Regions from separate parts of the Homo sapiens genome. Here region 2 is linked to region 1. The links are contacts of gene promoters, found by promoter capture Hi-C in human tissues and cell types (Jung and others, 2019). All regions are on one chromosome and are shown on one strand. The core of a region is centred on a gene start or on the middle of the fragment in contact, and the rest is flanking DNA. Distances in the headings are between cores, read along the strand shown. Region 1 holds the start of AMER2 (APC membrane recruitment protein 2). Region 2 overlaps ATP8A2 (ATPase phospholipid transporting 8A2).

Region 1 (3,584 bases), core at 668-3,167:
CCACCACGCCGGGGTTCTTTTTAGACAGAGCCGGCTTGCCTGGCCCGGGGACATGCTTGTCACAGCTGGGACCTGCCTCTTCCTCTTGGTCTGCAATAATATCTCCACAGCCTGTAAGAGAGTCAAAGCTTTTCAGTGAAGTCACGTCAGAAAACATCAAACAAATACGATCTGCCGACGGGTCTGAGGGTGGATCGACAGAGGCAGGGTCTGGGGCGGCGGGCGCCCGGCCGCTGCCGCCTTCGGAGTCGACAAGGGGGACCGTCTTTACGGGAACGGCCCCCGTCCTGGAAGCGTCCTCTGCCGTGCGGACCTCCCCGGGCCCCGGCTCGGCGCGCCGATGCCCCGCGGCGTCCTCTCCCCGGGCGCCGGTGTCGCCGGGGTGCGCGAGGCCCTCTGCCTCTCGGCAGCTCCGCGCTGGGGCGCGGTCGGCGGGGGCGGGCACCTCCTCTCCCCCTGCGGGCTCACCTGCTGGGTCTCGCGGGGCGTCCTGGCTGGGCTCCTCCGGCTCGCGCGCGGCTCTGGGCGTCTCCTCCTTGACGCACTCCAGGCTGGCGGTGAGCGAGCCGGGTAGGATCAAGCCGCCCCCGGGCGCGCGCCCCTCCGCGGCCTCCGCCTTGGCCCGCTTGTCTTTCCTGTGCCAGCGCATGCCGCTGAACAGCCCCCGCAGCCCCCGCTTTTGTTTGCCGCCGGCCTTGCTCGCGTCCACAGGCTCTCCCTTGCCGTTTTCCGAGCGCCCGTTCTTCTTCAGCAGCGAGAAGAAGCTGTGCGACTTGGCCACCGAGCTGCTGGCGAGGGAGCCCCCGCCGGGCCCTGCGGCTCTGGGGGGCCCCGGGTTCGGCCGCCCCCCGCCGCCCCCGCCGCTGTCGCCCCCGCCGCGCGGCTCCTCCTTCCTGCCGCTCTCCAGCACCAGCACCTCGGCAAGTCCGTCGTGGGTCCTGCTCCTCACCAGCCCCGTCGGACCCGAGCTTTTCCCGTCCCCTTTGTTTTTGACCCCAAAAATGCTGGGCATGGTGCCACCCGATTTCCTCTTCTTGAATAATTTGAAGGCAGCTTTATTAATCTTCCCCGACGGCGGCTCGGCGGCCGGCGTTTCGGCGGCACAGTCACAATGCAAGTCCATGTCTGCCGCGAGGGTCCCGGTCCCGGCCCCGGCCTCCGCCTTCCTCCTGCAGACCCCCACGGACGCGCCAGCTCCGCCGCGCTCGCTGACAGCCCCGCCGCCGCCGCGGCTCCGGCTCGTCTCCATGGAAACCGCGCGGGATAAGCCGCTTTCGTCAGCAGTGGGCTCGCGCCAGGCCACTGTCACCCGTATTCTAAATCAACCTGAGCCGCGCTCGCCGCCGCCGCTGCAAAAGAAACACACATAAAAGACCATCTTCCCTCCCGCAAGGGCTTATATAATACCCTAACCCACTTCCATCCGACTTGGCTCGGCGCTGCATGGCGTTTTTGTGGCAGGAGCAGGCAACACAGCCGCGAGCTGATTGCAGAAATTCGAGTCGTAATTATGGAATTCAAATTCCCTCAACTCTCACCCACCTTCGGATTCCTTCTCTAGACTCGCTCTTCACGGGAGCGCAACCATGGATCACGAAATGCCTCTAAAAACGACAACGCAATTCAACCCACCACAAAATGCTTGTTTTTCTTATCCTCTCTCCTAGACTCCCTGCATCTTCATGCCTTTCCCAAGCCCTTCATGTCTGTCCTTAGCATTGGTGCACTAAGCCCAGCAGGCAGGAAGCATGTCTGCCTACATCCATGTCTTGTCCAGAGCTGAGCACACGCTAGGTCCATGCTGTGTGGCTGTCATTGTGGTTATGGTTCTTGTGACAAAAGTACACGCCACCACTCAATCAGTCTATCAGCAGCCCAGCAATGCAAGCACAACAGCTCCCCGGGGTGGAGTTTGCCTGCACCTTTGGGACAACCATGACTTTTATCCCAGACTCCAGCCACCACGGGATGAAGTCACAGATGCTGCGGCACAGCCCACATCTGATAACAATAGACAAGCTGACCGAGACACACAGGCTGGGAATCTCAGACCCACTCCACAGGTGGGCCTTCGAGTCCGGGTTCTGCCCTCTCCTTTCCCACTCAGCAGGACAGTGGCATTATTCCTGTCACTGCGGTACCACTCCCCTCCCCCATACCACCAGGGCTGACTTGTAGTCCCCTTCCCCAATGTACAGAGCAGGAAAAGCTTGGCAGGGGTCCCTGTGTGTCCAGGGATCTCTGCAGACATTCCTACCTGCCTGGTCTGGGGAGAGGGAAAACCTTTTTTCTGGGAACAGCTCAGTCTAGGGATCTGTTCTGTGTTCTGATTTAAAAAGTGACTGCTAATATTCTAATCTTGACATCTGATTTCATAATCCCAGCTGAGTGCTTTTTAGCAAAAAGAAATTTGGAGAAGCATATACATATATAAATATAACATGTATATATAGTATATATTATTTAATCATTTGATTATTTATTAAATATCATTTAAGAATATATGTAATAATTACATATATACACAAACAGTAGTCTTTTCCCTACTCATTTTTTATATGCTCTTTGCATTAGGCCAATAAATCCCAATCCCCATCCACATAAGTTGGCGTTTTATAAATGACGTATGTTGGCCATTGCAGCTTCTGTTGTTATGAGATACAGCTGGTTAAAATTTAGACCTTGGAGTTCTTAGTTGTATTATTTCCTTTTTTTGTTTATTTTTTTCAAGAACACTGTTTTGTAAAACGAAGAAATCAATGAGTTCAGGTTCAGGAGAGGTTGTCACTTCCAGACTCTAATCCCATCAACTCTTTCTCACTATTGATGAGCATCTCTCCTGGTACAGGAAGTAAGGTGAGGCCAGAGAGAGGCTTTCCCGGATTCTAATTGACCGCTTGACATGATGAATCAGAGTCCTCAGTGCTTTCTGGGGAGACCACGTGTAAGGAACTGTAAAGAGAAACCCATTTGTTACGTCTTTACAACCTTTTGAAGAACAATAGAAAGTCTCTCAATTTTACACACATACACACACACACACACAAACACACACACACCCATACAGTTGCTTAGATTTGTGGGTTACTATGTAGCTCTGTCAGTTTGGAAGAGTTTGTGACTGGGATCAAGGAAAAGTAAGTCGCCTATTAAAAAATCTCCCTTTCTCCACTGGGAGAAAGTGGTCTGCTTATTCACCCATCAGGACAGGTCAAATGTGACTCTAATTTACATGAGAATCTTTGGGCCTCCTGGGAGAAATCTGATAGAGGACTTTGGGATGGATATCATTCTTTTGGGACATCAACACTCAAACAAAGAGAAAGAGACAAAGCTGTCTTCAGCCTGCGGAAGGTGCCCTCACTGTGAGTTACTGGCCCTGAGATAGAAGAAAGCAGGGACCCCTGGAACAATCTGAAGGCACTGGGCATGGGAGCTGTAGAGGCTGCGGTGTGAGTGAGGACCCTCCAGCGTCCTACTCAAAGTCCTTGTTACAGAGACAGTGGGAAAAACGAGGGTGAAGTCAGCTGAAAGGAACTTACCCCAAAAGCCAGACAGGTAAGGAGAGACTCTGTAGGGGAGAG
Region 2 (3,584 bases), core at 591-3,090, 310 kb after region 1:
CGCTCCCCACATCTCAGAAGATGGGCGGCCGGGCAGAGACGCTCCTCCCTTCCTAGATGGGATGGCGGCCGGGAAGAGGCGCTCCTCACTTCCTAGATGGGATGGCGGCCGGGCAGAGATGCTCCTCACTTTCCAGACTGGGCAGCCAGGCAGAGGGGCTCCTCACATCCCAGACGATGGGTGGCCAGGCAGAGACGCTCCTCACTTCCTAGACGGGGTGGCGGCCGGGCAGAGGCTGCACTCTGGGCACTTTGGGAGGCCAAGGCAGGTGGCTGGGAGGTGGAGGTTGTAGCGAGCCGAGATCACGCCACTGCACTCCAGCCTGGGCACCATTGAGCACTGAGTGAACCAGACACCGTCTGCAATCCTGGCACCTCCGGAGGCCGAGGCTGGTGGATCACTCGCGGTTAGGAGCTGGAGACCAGCCCGGGCAACACAGCGAAACCCCGTCTCCACCAAAAAAATATGAAAACCAGTCAGGCGTGGCAGCGCGCGCCTGCAATCACAGGCACTAGGCAGGCTGAGGCAGGAGAATCAGGCAGGGAGGTTTCAGTGAGCCGAGATGGCAGCAGTACAGTCCAGCTTCGGCTCGGCATCAGAGGGAGACCGTGGAAAGAGAGGGAGAGGGAGACCGTGGGGAGAGGGAGAGGGAGAGGGACAGGGAGAGGAACAGGGACAGGGACAGGGACAGGGACAGGAGTACTGGTCTTCATAGTTACTTCCCAATATTGTTTTTGCCCACATTTTCTGATGGGACATGCAGACTGCATTTCCCAGTTTCTCTTGTAACTAGCGACTGTGTGGCCAACTTCAGGCCAGTGGTCTCTCAGAAGAGTCACATGGCAGTTCTAGGAGCCCTCCTGAGACTCAACGCCCATGCATCCTTCATTCCTCCTCCATCCTGAGCCAGGAATGTGGATGCCTGTATGATTCTTAAACCATTTGTTCTTTTGGGAGGGTTAATTTAGTTTAAATTGGATAAAGTGATGGATGACTCCACCTAGCTGGGACCTGGAAATTGAAATGTGTAGTAGTAAGGAGAGAGACAGACAGGGAGGGTACCACTGTTATCCCTGTATTAGCTCAGGCTGCCATAGCAAAATACATAGACTGCGGGGGCGTAAGCAGGTGTTCGTCTTCTCATAGTTCTAGAGGCTGGAAGTCCAAGATCAGGGTGCCAGCATGATCTGGTTCTGGTGCGGGCTCTCTCCTGGCTTGCAGATAGCTGCTTTCTTGCCATGTCCTCCCAGAACAGAGAGAGTGAGCAAGAGCAAGAGCGAGAGTGAAGGAGAGACAGAGTGAGAGCTCTCTGTCTCTAATAAGGGCACTAATCCCATCTTGAGGGTCCCACCCTCATGACCTCATCTAATCCTAATTATCTCCAAAAGGGCCCAACAGTAGCATCCCATCACATTGGGGGTTAGGGCTTCAACATATGAATTTTAGGAAGGACACAGTTCAGTCCATAGCACCACCCACCCTTCCCATTAAAGAGGTTCCTCTCCAGCCACATTACATAGAATTACGTTGGGACACCAGTGTCAGTGCATTTAATAAATGTTCCTGAAGCTTATTTTTTGGAGGTATATATAAATATAAGCTCTGATAGCATCTTCCCAAACCCCACTTGGAAGCCACCTGCTTTAGATTCAGTTGATTAGGGCCCGCCTTAGAGGAAAACCATCTGGTCAGACCCAGTCTGACTTTTACTTTAGGCCCCAGGAACTCTGAGACTGATCATAAGTCTTGTTCCTTAAGTACCATTCATAATCCTACATTTGGTATATGTGAGGTAAGCATTGCAGTCCCTCTCTGTCAAGAATTGGGGGTGCGTGGTTAGTGGCAGCACTGCAGGGGTGGGAAAGTAGAAGGACGGGGCAAAACTGCTAGTAGAGACCAATGAGCTGGGCCTGAAAGATGAGTACGAGTCAGCCTGGAAACTTGGGTGGGGCTTGGTGGGGAGGGCAGGCCAGACATGGGGAACCCCATGTGCAGAGGTGCAGAAGAGTGTAACGGCCAGGTGTATGTCTTTCCAGAAAAGATGTGGAAGAAGAAGGTGATGTGGTTTGGCTCTGGGTCCCTACCCAAATCTCATCTTGAATTGTAGCTCCCATAATTCCCATATGTTGTGGGAGGGACCTGGTGGGAAATGATTGAATCATGGGGGCGGTTTCCCCCATACTATTCTCGTGGTAGTGAATAAATCTTATGAGAGCTGATGGTTTTATCAGGGGTTTCCACTTTTGCATCTTCCTCATTCTCTCTTTGCCTGCTGCCGTCCATGTAAGACGGGACTTGCTCCTCCTTGCCTTCCACCATGATTGTGAGGCTTCCCCAGCCATGTGGAACTGTAATTCCAATTAAACCTCTTTCTTTTGTAAATTGCCCAGTCTGGGGCATGTCTTCATCAGCAGCGTGAAAACGGACTAATACAGAAGGGATGATGGACAAAGTGCTGTGAAAGGCCAGGCTACTGGAGACGGGCTGCTATAGCCAAGAAAAGCTTTTATGAGCCAGGTGACAAAGTGATAGATAGTACTTGGGTTTGATGTGCACAGCCACCTGCTCTGCATTTAGAATAAGCATATGAGGCTGCTGTCATTGCCCAGGAAGAGGTGCAGGGCTATACTGCTGCAGGAGAAGAGAAGCACTTGGGATGGTTAGCAGTGGGGCTGTAAGTGGACAGAGCACTAGGCAAGTGTGATTTCCAGGTTCCAGTGTTAGTGACGGAGAAGGTGTTGATGCTGTTTCTTGTGTTTCTGAGTTTTGTTTTGAACTATTTTGAACTGTGGAATGGGGCAAGGTGATTGACCTCAGAATAGCAGAAAGCCCCTTTCACCCCAGTATGAGACCACCCCAGGGGAGCAGAGATACACATGTAGGGGGTGATCTCTGTTGGTTGCGTCATGAAGGAGCTCCTTCCTCCAGCAAGGTAGGGGCAGCACTGGCGCTCTTGGAGAGACACCAAACTTTTGACAGATCTTTCCCTACCTCTAGATCTGTTTGGTTTCAAGATACTCCAATTAATAAACTGGAAGTAGAATAATGTCATAGCTTACAGCATGATGAGAATTAAATGAGAACATCTGGGCACAGTGGCTCATGCCTGTAATCCCAGCACTTTGGGAGGCCAAGGCAGGAAGATTGTTTGAGGCTAGGAGTTTGACACCAGCCTGGGCAACATAGTGAGATCCTATGTCTACAAGAAAAAAATAATTAGATGAGAATGTACCTGTTTAAGGCTGCACTGTGTAAGAGCTCACAGACTCACACAGAGTTGCTCATTGACACCAGTTATCTGGTTATTACGAATGTTGTTCTTCTTTGCCACTCATTTTGCTCTCTAATTCTTTGATAACCAAAACAATCAATTATAAGCTGTAACTCGGGGAAAAGGGAAGTGGACTTGCGTATTACTCTGCCCAAGAGTTACACATTGCCAAGGGAAGAAATATGCAGGCTGAAGAATCACAAGGTAGGTTTTGGGCATTAGGGTCTTTTGTACATATATGTTTTCTAGCCTGTAACTGCTAGGAACAAGCAGGCTGGACTGCGAGCATAAGATGAGTCTAAAATGTGTTTGA

What was found. The method cuts DNA at HindIII sites, captures the fragments that hold promoters and counts their contacts. A contact is called where the count stands out against the background at its distance.
Region 2: a fragment that was not itself captured here is called in contact with the fragment with the promoter of AMER2 in region 1 in 1 of the 25 tissues and cell types used here (dorsolateral prefrontal cortex).

What each region holds. Positions count from the first base shown.
Region 1 is chr13:25,170,371-25,173,954 of GRCh38, forward strand. AMER2 (APC membrane recruitment protein 2) reads right to left here and starts at 1,918. Exons shown (of 1, transcript NM_152704.4): 1 at 1-1,918. The coding sequence starts at 1,249. It overlaps LINC00463 (long intergenic non-protein coding RNA 463), which reads right to left. Exons shown (of 4, transcript NR_120428.1): 3 at 3,543-3,584; 4 at 2,454-2,952. RefSeq lists a silencer at 408-497 and an enhancer at 2,777-3,584. The HindIII fragment of the contact is 4,196 bases long and covers 1-3,206 here.
Region 2 is chr13:25,480,535-25,484,118 of GRCh38, forward strand. The region is part of intron 2 of ATP8A2 (ATPase phospholipid transporting 8A2); the gene reads left to right. Among named protein-coding and RNA genes, the nearest start is that of ATP8A2, 110 kb to the left of the region's middle. The HindIII fragment of the contact is 4,258 bases long and covers 1-3,584 here.